2 separate regions of the Homo sapiens genome follow, and region 2 is linked to region 1. Evidence: promoter capture Hi-C in 16 types of primary human blood cells and fetal thymus (Javierre and others, 2016). All regions are on one chromosome and are shown on one strand. Each heading gives the region's core, a stretch centred on a gene start or on the middle of the fragment in contact. The rest is flanking DNA. Distances are from core to core; before and after follow the strand shown.

Region 1 (4,793 bases), core at 812-3,311:
TTCTTGAGAAGTTCTCTTCTCTTGGCTTCAGAAACATTGACCTTTTCTGAGATTCCTCTTACCTCAGAGGCTGTTCTTTCTTAGTATTCTTTGGGGAGGGGGGGTGCATCTTCCTGTACTCATCCCTTAAATGTGTTCCCTGAGGTTCCGTCCTCACTATATTCTCCTCACTCCTTATATACCACACATTCACTAGGTGACTTTAATCACTCTACGCATTTCGACCGCCCTCTATATCCTTAATCGCTCCCTAAATCTATTTCTGATAAAGTATAACTGACCTCCTCCTCTGATAGCCCTCTGTAAACCACGAGACATTCTACAGCATTTATCTCTGTGCATATGTGCCTCCCTCTGTTAGACTAGAAGGGCAGGCCTAGCGCTTTCTCTCTTTCTAGTATCCAGGACAATACCTGGTAGATAACAGGAGCTCCACAAATGTTTAATAAATAAATAAAAGTTGACATACTCAGCATTTATATTTTAAGTTACCTTGTTTTCCTTTACAGAAAGTCTGAGAGGTAATTTCAGATGAAGAATTTCATTCTTTTTCAGGCTTTCATAGCCAGCAACAAAGACTCCTGGAAAAAGAAGCAGAGGTAGCTGTCACAAATTGTTAGAAAGATTGCAGACCATGCAATCCCCCGAAGTAAGGATACATTCCTTCACTGTGCAGCCTTGTATGGAGGAATTGAGTACCTGGTTGTGTCTTTTTCAGACAAGGTCTCGCTGTGTCAGCCAGGCTGGAGTGCAGTGGTCCGATCACAGCTCACTGCAGCCTCAACCTGCCAGGCTCAAGTGATCCTCCCACCACAGCCTTCAGAGTAGCTGGGATTATAGGCGTGAGCCACCATGCTCGGCTAATTTTTGTATTTTTTGTAGAGACAGGGTTTCCTTGCTTAGGTTAGTCTCAAATTCCTGGGATCAAGCAATCTGCCCGCTGCCTCAGCCTCCTGAAGTGCCCAGCCTGAAGACTTTTTTTGTTAGCCACGCTGGAATACAGTGTCGTGATCTCAGCTCACTGCAACCTCCACCTCCTGGGTTCAAGTGATTCTCCTGCCTCAGCCTCCCCAGTAGCTGCTGGTACACAGGTGTGCACCACCTCGTCCGGCTAATTTTTGTATTTTCAGTAGAGACGGGGTTTCACCATGTTGGCCAGACTGGTCTCGAACTCCTGACCTCAGGTGATCCGCCTGCCTCGGCCTCCCAAAGTGCTGGGATTACAGGCGTGAACCACTGCTCCCGGTCAGAGATCTTAATAAGAGGAATATTAGTGCTGATGGGGCATCAAATTGCTACAAGTGACTCTCAGGTGCCCAGAAGAGTGGGTTGGGTCCCTCTAGGCTTAGCTCCTGAAACCCAGCTCAGGAGTGAGATTCCCTCTCCTTCAGGGCTAGAAAGGTATACCACCTTTGTCATCAATCCATTCAAGGACTCGAGTGGCTCCTGACAGGTCGAATGCATAGAAATCCTGGTACCTGCACAAAAGGGACACAGAATCACACGATGCACAGCACTTCACAGCTCAAAGAACTCCAAGATGGCAGCCGCATGGTTCAGTGGCCCAAACTCTGGAGTCAGGCAGACGTGGGACTGAGTTTACTTCCCATTTTACTCCCTGTTTCTGGGACCAGGCCAGTCCCTTGATGTCCCTGAGCCTCGGTCCTCATGTGTGGACGTCCCAGGGTACCCAGATTTCCCAAGGTTGACGTGAGGAATCAATGAGATCATCTGTGTTCTGAGCTGAACTCAGAGGCTGGCGCAAACTAACTGGGCACTGCGTCTTCACAAGCGCGGCTCTTACTAGTAATCTCACAACGCGCGCACGCAGGAAGGAGCCATTTCCTAGAGATGGGGGCCTAGGCCCAGGCGGAGTCCTCCACGGTGGCGAGCCCCGAGGCCACAGCTGGCCCACTCTGCACCAGGATCCCCAACGTGCCTCCACCCACACCCATCCGCCCGCCAGGCAAGCTCCAGGCCCAGCTCCCATGTCCCAGCCCCGTACGATTTACAAGCGCAAGGATTCCACCAGCCAGTCGTCCCCAGGATCCATGGCAACGACCGCTTCCGGCGTCTCACTTCCGCCTGCGAGCCTTCGGGGGCCGCGCGGCTCTCGCGAGATGTGGGCAGGGCCTCCCGTTAGGGGCGGGGTTAACAGGCTGAGCTGCGGCCCGGCATGGGTGGGTTACGGGTTTTCTCCGCGAAAGCTCCGGGAAAAGTGACCTGAAATCGGGACTTTCCCGCTGTCAGCTCCAAGCAGGACCTGAGGACCAAATGATCGCCCGTTTTAGGGCCAGGTGTTTGCAGCCCAAGAGAGGGGCAATGAATGCTCCAAGGCCAGAAATAATACAGGACCGCCCGGTTAAATTCGAATTTCAGAAAAACGGTGAATAATTTCTTTCTTACGAGTATGTTCATGCAATATTTGGTACATTTTATTAGATAAAATTATTGTTTATCTGAAATTCGAATTTAACTGGGTGTCCAGTATTTTTATTTGCTAACGCTGGCAACCCTTCTGACGGCCAGAGAAGAGAGGAAGCGGCCGGCAGGGTCTGGATCCCAACTCGGCGCTCCCCTCCAAGTCCGGCGGGGGTATTGAGTAAAGCCCGGCAGTGTAGTGTCTGCAGCCCCCTTTTACTAGCGAGGAAACTAGTGACACTTGCCTGCGCCAGTAGGTGGCAGAGATGAGAGTAGAACCCCGCGCCTGGCACGAAGCCTGGCATGCAACAGGCGTTATTTGCTTGCTGAATGAATGGGTAGGAGGCCAGAGTCAGTGCCAGGCTGGTGCCATGGCATGGGGTATTCTGGACTTTTTGAGCCAGCCCCATCTCACTGAACACTCTGCCCTCCAGCCCCCTTTTCCTCCCATCCCCTAAAAGACGGGTGAAAGGAGAGGACCAGGCATTGTATGTAAAGAGCAAGGTTTTATTCACCAATTCAACAGGGAAGCAGGAAATACAGCAGGAACATAATCTGTGTCTGCATCAGCGATATTTCTGGTGACCCAGCCAGAAATCACAGTAATGGAGTAACAGAGATTTGAGCTCAGGATTTACATCCAGATGGGGCCATCAACAGGGTCCCATTCAGCACCTTCCCTGGGTGGGCACAATCTAAGCCACGCTGTTGTGTCTGCCCCATTATTGGTGTCATTTCTGCAGTATTTGTACCAGCAGCCTCCTGTACTGAAGAGAAACATACAGAAGAATTGAGCCAGGGAGGGGCTCCTGATAAAGATAGGGGCATCCTGCCATTCCTAAGTGCCAGATGTCTGCAGAGGTGGGCACCAGCAGGCTGTCAGCTGAGGCAGGCCCCAGAGCACCCTGAATTGCCTTGGAGGGGTCGGGGCAGTAGTTTTCTCAGAACACAGCCCCAACCACCCAGGGTGGTCATGACAGTCAAAGAAGATCGTGGAAGAAAATCCAAATACAGTGCTTGGTGCTGGGCTAGTGTCAGCGTCCTCACTCCCCCACCCCAGCTCTGCCCCAGACCTCACTCTGAAGCCCCAGACGTAGGCACTGCTGCTTCTGAGATTCTCTAGTTGGTCTGCATGTGTCAGAGCTTCAAAACCAAGGGCATTAGAGGTGACATTGTTTCCCTTCAGACTCAGCCAGCCCAAGCTCCTAGGCCTTACATCTGAGGTCCTCAGGGGCTGCTGGTTCTGTGCCTCAGGAAGTCAGGGATGTTGGTTGAGGCTGGGTTGGACCTTTTCTAGGGAATGCCTCTCCCTTCAAAATGCACACACTATATGCTAGGCACACTGGGGGATATGAAGGCGAGTCTACAACAGGTGCCGCCAGGGAGCTCACAGACTGATAAGAGCTCGCATCTACTAAGGGCTGTCTATGAGCCAGGCACCATGCTGAGCATTTGACATAAATGGTCTCATTTAATGGGAGATGGGCCTTATTATCTTCATTTTATGGGTGAAGAATATTGAGGCTTTAGAGAAGTTAAGGGACATTTCTAAGGTCATACAGCTACTAAGTAGCTAGGTTATGAGCCCAGCACGTTGTAGTCAAAACCCACATTCTACCACATCACACTGCCTTCTGCACACAGCAGCAGGACCAGGGAGGGTGGTGTGCAGTAAGGACAGCACCAGGAGCAGGGAATGAAGGAGTTGCCACTCAGCGGGGCTATACCTTGAGGCTAGCTTGGCTCCAGCTTTGGAGTCTTGAATCCCATAGATCAGTGACTGACAACCAATAATGATTTGGGGCCCTCTCCCCCAGCAGACATCTGGTGATGTCTGGAGGTCTTTTCAGTTGTCACAACTTGATGGGGGGGAAAGATGCTACTGGCATCTAGTATGTAGAGACCAGGGATGCTGCCAAACATCCCATGATGCACACGTCAGCCCTCACAAGAAACAGTGATTCAGCCTAGAACGTCAAATGTACTGAAGTTGCTAAACCCTACCACTGGATACTGAGGCAGATGAGAGAATGGGAAGAGCTCCAGTCCAGGTGAACAAGGTCCAGACTCTGTCTTGGCTGCTGACTTCTCTTTCCCTCTCTGGGCCTCAGGGTCCCATTCCGGCCACAAGCATACACAGGACACAGCAAAGGTGGACTTGACTAATGCAGCAGGGAACAGCATGGGTGGGACAAGACTGTGTAGACTGGGGGAGAAAGGTCCTGCTCCAAAAGGCTGATGATCCCAGTCTGTTACTTTAGACTGGGTGATGAGTCAGGGGAACTTCTTTCCCTACTTCTTGCCCCATGGGGTCTACTGGGAAGGTCAGCTTCCTTTCTTTGGACTGTTCCTCCTTTGAGCTCTGCCTCAAG
Region 2 (4,846 bases), core at 1,173-3,672, 300 kb after region 1:
AGAGATAAGGTCTTCCTGTGTTGCTAAGGCTGATTTCAAACTTCTGAGCTCAAGCAATTTTCCTGCCATGGCCTCCCAAAGTGCTGGGATTACAGACGTGAGCTACTGCACCTGGCCTCTTGCACATCTTGTTCCTTCTGAACATATCACCATAATTCTTCTAATTTAAGACAGTAAGATGTGCCATTTTTTATGTACCACTAAGAAAGAACACTCCCAACTAAACTGTGACACTCCATTGTTTGTAGGATGCATCTCCATATCAGAAATGTTAAAATGTGAAAAATTTATGCATTTTCAAATCCATATACCTTGTTTTTTTGTTTTTGTTGCTTAGATTTCTTTTTAACTGTCATTATTTCTTCCCAAATTTGTTAAGAAAATTATTTTTAATTTTTAAACAACTTTATTGACATATAATGATATACTATAAAATTACCCTATAGTGTAAAATTCAATGGTTTTTAGTATATTTAGTTGTACAGCCCATCACCAGAATCTATTTAAGAATATTGTCATCACCCGAGAAGTCATTCCCCAACTCCATTCTTTTGCACGTAGTTTTTTGTTTGTTTGTTTTGTTTTGTTTTGTTTTTTGAGACAGAGTCTCACTCTGTTGCCCAGACTGGAGTGCAGTGGCGCAGTCTCCACTCACTGCAACCTCTGCCTCCTGGGTTCAAGCGATTCTTGTGCCTCAGCCTCCTGAGTGGCTGGGAGTACAGGCGAACGCCACCACGCCCAGCTAATTTTTGTATTTTTAGTAAAGACAGCATTTTGCCACATTGGCCAGGCTGGTCTCAAACTCCTGGCCTCAAGTGATCCACCCATCTATGCCTCCCAAATTTCTGGGATTACAGGCATGAGCCACCATGCCTGGCCGACAACACTATTCTCTCTGATTGAATTGTTTTGGCACCGTTGTCAAAAATCAATTGACCATAATATGAGGGTTTATTTTTGAGCTCTTAATTCTATTCCATTTATCTGTAGTCTATCCTCATGCCACTACCACACTATTTTGATTACTGTAGCTTTGTAGGAAGGTTTGGAATCAGGAAGTATGAGTCTTCCATCTTTGTTATTCTTTTTAAAGATTGTTTAAGCTATTCTAGTTCCCTTGCATTTCCATATGAATTTTAAAATCACCTCATCAATTTCTGCAAAAAACCCAGCTGAGATTTTGATAGAGATTGCATTGAATATGTAGATCAATTTGAGGGGTACATCCAGTTTAAAATATTAAGTCCTCTGATCCATGAACATGGGATGCCTCTCCGTTTGCTTAGATCTTCTTTAATTTCTTTCAACAATGTTTTGTAGTTTTCATTGTACAAGTCTTGCACTTCATTTATTAAATTTATTCCTAAGTACTTAGAATTTCTGAAGAAAACAGAATTGTTTTCTTCATTTTGTCATTGGATTGCCCATTGTAGAAATATACTTGATTTTTGTATATTGGTCTTATATCCAGAGAAAATTGTTTATATATATAAATCCGCAAGCTCTGAGAGCTATTTTCTATAAGGTCCTATATCTGATTCCCTCTTTTCCCGAGATGTTCCTTCTGGAACCCTGTGTTATCTTATTCCACCTGGTTCTCTTCAGGCCTGCTGCTGCTCAGCTGTCACCCTGGGACTTGCTTACACCTCTCTTGGGTGGATGTCCTATTTTTGGAACCCTTGTCTTTCTCTTTCTTGGGTTATTCCCTCATTTTGGTAGAACACCTGAGAAAGTATACACAAGAGATCAAATTTTGTGAAAAATTGCATATCTGAAAATGTCTTTATTCTACCATCACACTTGGTTAATAGCTTAGTAGGGAATATAATCTAGGTTTGGAAATCACTTCCTCTTACAGTTTTTTGTTTGTTTGTTTGTTTGTTTGAGGCAGGGTCTCATTCTATTACCCAGCCTGGAGTACAGTGGTGCAACCGTAGCTTACTGAAGCTTTGGTCTCTCAGACTCAAGCCATCCTCCCACCTCAGCCTCCCAAATAGCTGGGACTACAGGAAGGCACCACCAAACCTGGTTAATTTTAAAATTTCTTTTATAGAGATGAGATATCATTATGTTGCCCAGGATGGTCTCAAAATTTTTTTTATTTTATTTTTATTTTTTGAGATGGGGTCTTGCTGGGCATGGTGGCTCATGCCTGTAATCCCAGCACTTTGAGAGGCTAAGGTGGGTGGATCACTTGAGGCCAAGAGTTCAAGACCAGCTTGGCCAACATGGTGAAACCTCATCTCTACTAAAAATACAAAAATTAGCAGGGTTGAGTGGTGCACACCTGTAGTCCTAGCTACTCGGGAGGCTGAGGCAGGAGAATCGTTTGAACCCAGGAGGTGGGGGTTGCAGTGAGCCGAGATTGCGCCATTGCACTCCAGCCTGGGTGACAGAGTGAGGCTTCATCTCAAAAAAAAAAAAAAAAAAAAAAGAGATGAGGTCTCACTCTGTCACCCAGGCTGGAGTGCAGTGGCATGATCACAGCTCATTGCAGCCTCGACCATCCCAGGCCTAGGTGATCCTCCCACCTCTGCCTCCCAAGTAGCTGGGATTACAGGCCTTTGCCACCATGCCCAGCTAATTTTTGTATTTTTTATAGAGATGGGGTTTTGCCATGTTGGCCAGGCTGGTCTCAAACTCCTGGCCTCAAGTGATCTGCCCACCTCGGTCTTCCAAAGTGCTGGGATTACAGGCATGAGCCACCATGACCAGTCAGGGAAGTTTTATATCCTTTCTTTGTTAATTTTCTCTCTTTCATTTTCTCTATTTTCTCTTTCTGAAACTCCTTTTTTTTTTGTAATGTTAGACCCTCCGAATTTATCTTCGAATTTTTTTACCTCTCTTCTCTTATTGTTCTTTCTTTATAATTTTGTTTGCTTTCTGAAAATTGTCCTTAAGCTTGTCTTCCAACTTTTCTATCAACTTGTTTCCTGCTATCATAATTTTAACTTTCCAAAGCTCTTTCCTCATGGTTGGGTTTTCTTTGTTTCTAATATGCCCTTCCTGTTTCATGTGAGTAATATCATTTCCTGTGTCTCTGAGAATATTAATAGTTTCAAGGCATTTTTCTTTGTCCATGTGCATTGTCTCTGGACCCTCCATTCCTTTTTGTTTTGTTTGTTTTGATCTCTGTCTTCCATATTAGATTCTGTCCTCAAATCTATGGTGATCCTTTGTTTTACGTTCATACGTAACAATGAGTCCCTGAAGAGTTGCTTAAACACTGAGGAGTTGGGGAGGGATAAGGCTTATCAACTAGTGTATCTTACTGTGAGATAACTGGGCTGAGACCATCTATTTCAATGGGGGGAACTCTTGGATTTCAGTACCTATAAATCTATTTTCTGGGGTCATGATATTTCTCCAGAGAAGAATCTTCCAGTCTCCTGCCTGGAGAGGGCACACATAGGGTAGAGAAAATTCCAGGAATACAGTGGCACAAAGAGGGAGGAGGTGGTGCTGAACATTCAGTTTATAAACTCTCCCGTAATCTTTCTTTAAAATACAGAACATTTTCCACTCCCCTGTGCCTGCCTGCTTTTTTTTTTTTTTTTTTTTTTTTTTTTTTTTTTTTTTTTTTTTTGAGACAAGGTCTTGCTCTGTCGCCCAGGCTGGAGTACAGTGGCGCAATCTCAGCTCACTGCAACCTCCGCCCCTGCTGAATTCAAGAGATTCTCCTGCCTCAGCCTCCCAAGTAACTTGGATTATGGGCATGTGCCACCATGCCCGGCTAATTTTTGCATTTTTAGTAGAAACAGGGTTGCACTATGTTGCCCAGGCTGGCCTCGAACCCCTGTACTCAAGCGATCCACCTGACTCGGCCGGCCAAAGTGCTGGGATTACAGGCATGATCCACTGTGCCTGGCCTGTGCCTGCTTTTCTGATTCAATATCTCCATAGGATAAAACTCCAGTTTCCTGTCAGAGAAGAAAGAGCCACCTGGATGTGGGTGATGGGCAGGTGGGCCTGGGGCTCTAGGCTTTCAACTCCGCTTCCTGTTTTCAGCCCCACCTTCGCCCTCGCTTTTGCAGTAATAGGTGCCTCCAGTTCCTGAGCTTCACAGTTCAGCTTTATCAGCTCTGCTTCCAAAACTGTGTTAACATTCCTTATCTCTCCTGTTGCTGCTCTCACTCTCTTAGTCCTTATTGCTTTATAAATCTTTTCTTTCTTTCCCCTTTTTTTAGTGGAGTTTTGAGCGACAACAGTGCTAACTACAGGTGCTCTCAATTCAGCATGTTTAACTGGCTGATCCTGAATTGGCTTTGCAGGGACAGAATAGCAGGGTGAGGGAAAGCCTGGGCTTTAGAGCCAGACACATACATGGTTGAGTTCCGGCTCCACTTCTTCACATCCCTGTGTGTCCTCGGGCAAGATAATTTCAGGTTTCTCATCTGTAAAATGAGAATATCACCTCCGAACTCGTAGGGGTGTTGTAAGCATTAACTCTGATAATGCAGGCATTTTTGCCTAGCCTTATCTGAATGCAAGGCCGTGCTCTGAACCATCCAAGCAGCCTGCCTCTTTTGAGAACAGCGTGACTCAGAAAGGGGCTTCTCTTTTCAGCCTGGATTTCAGGATAAAGAAATGCATGGAATAGAGCCGCAGCAACCTCAGGTGACTCATTCTGTGAGTGAGAGAGAATTTTTTTTTTTTTTTTTAGAGACAGGGTATCACTCTGTTGCCCAAGCTGGGGTACAGTGATATAATCATGGCTCACTGTAGCCTCAACCTCCTGGGCTCAAGGGATCTTCCTACCTCAGTCTCCCAAGCAGCTGGGACTACATGTATGTGCCGTCACACCTGGCTAATATTTTATTTTATTTTATTTTTTGTAGAGACGAGG

The links. The method cuts DNA at HindIII sites, captures the fragments that hold promoters and counts their contacts. A CHiCAGO score of 5 or more calls a contact.
Region 2: a fragment that was not itself captured here is called in contact with the fragment with the promoter of WDR73 in region 1 in 6 of 17 cell types (naive CD8 T cells, fetal thymus, naive CD4 T cells and 3 more); the score reaches 6.2 in naive CD8 T cells.

What each region holds. Positions count from the first base shown.
Region 1 is chr15:84,652,222-84,657,014 of GRCh38, forward strand. It overlaps WDR73 (WD repeat domain 73), which reads right to left and starts at 2,062. Exons shown (of 8, transcript NM_032856.5): 1 at 2,013-2,062; 2 at 1,411-1,478; 3 at 493-581. The coding sequence starts at 2,053. NMB (neuromedin B) reads right to left here. Exons shown (of 3, transcript NM_021077.4): 3 at 2,911-3,188. The coding sequence ends at 3,153. RefSeq lists enhancers at 1,415-2,382, 1,809-2,048. The HindIII fragment of the contact is 10,475 bases long and covers 1-4,793 here.
Region 2 is chr15:84,956,688-84,961,533 of GRCh38, forward strand. It overlaps a transcript of SLC28A1 not described here. Among named protein-coding and RNA genes, the nearest start is that of PDE8A, 23 kb to the right of the region's middle. The HindIII fragment of the contact is 954 bases long and covers 1,946-2,899 here.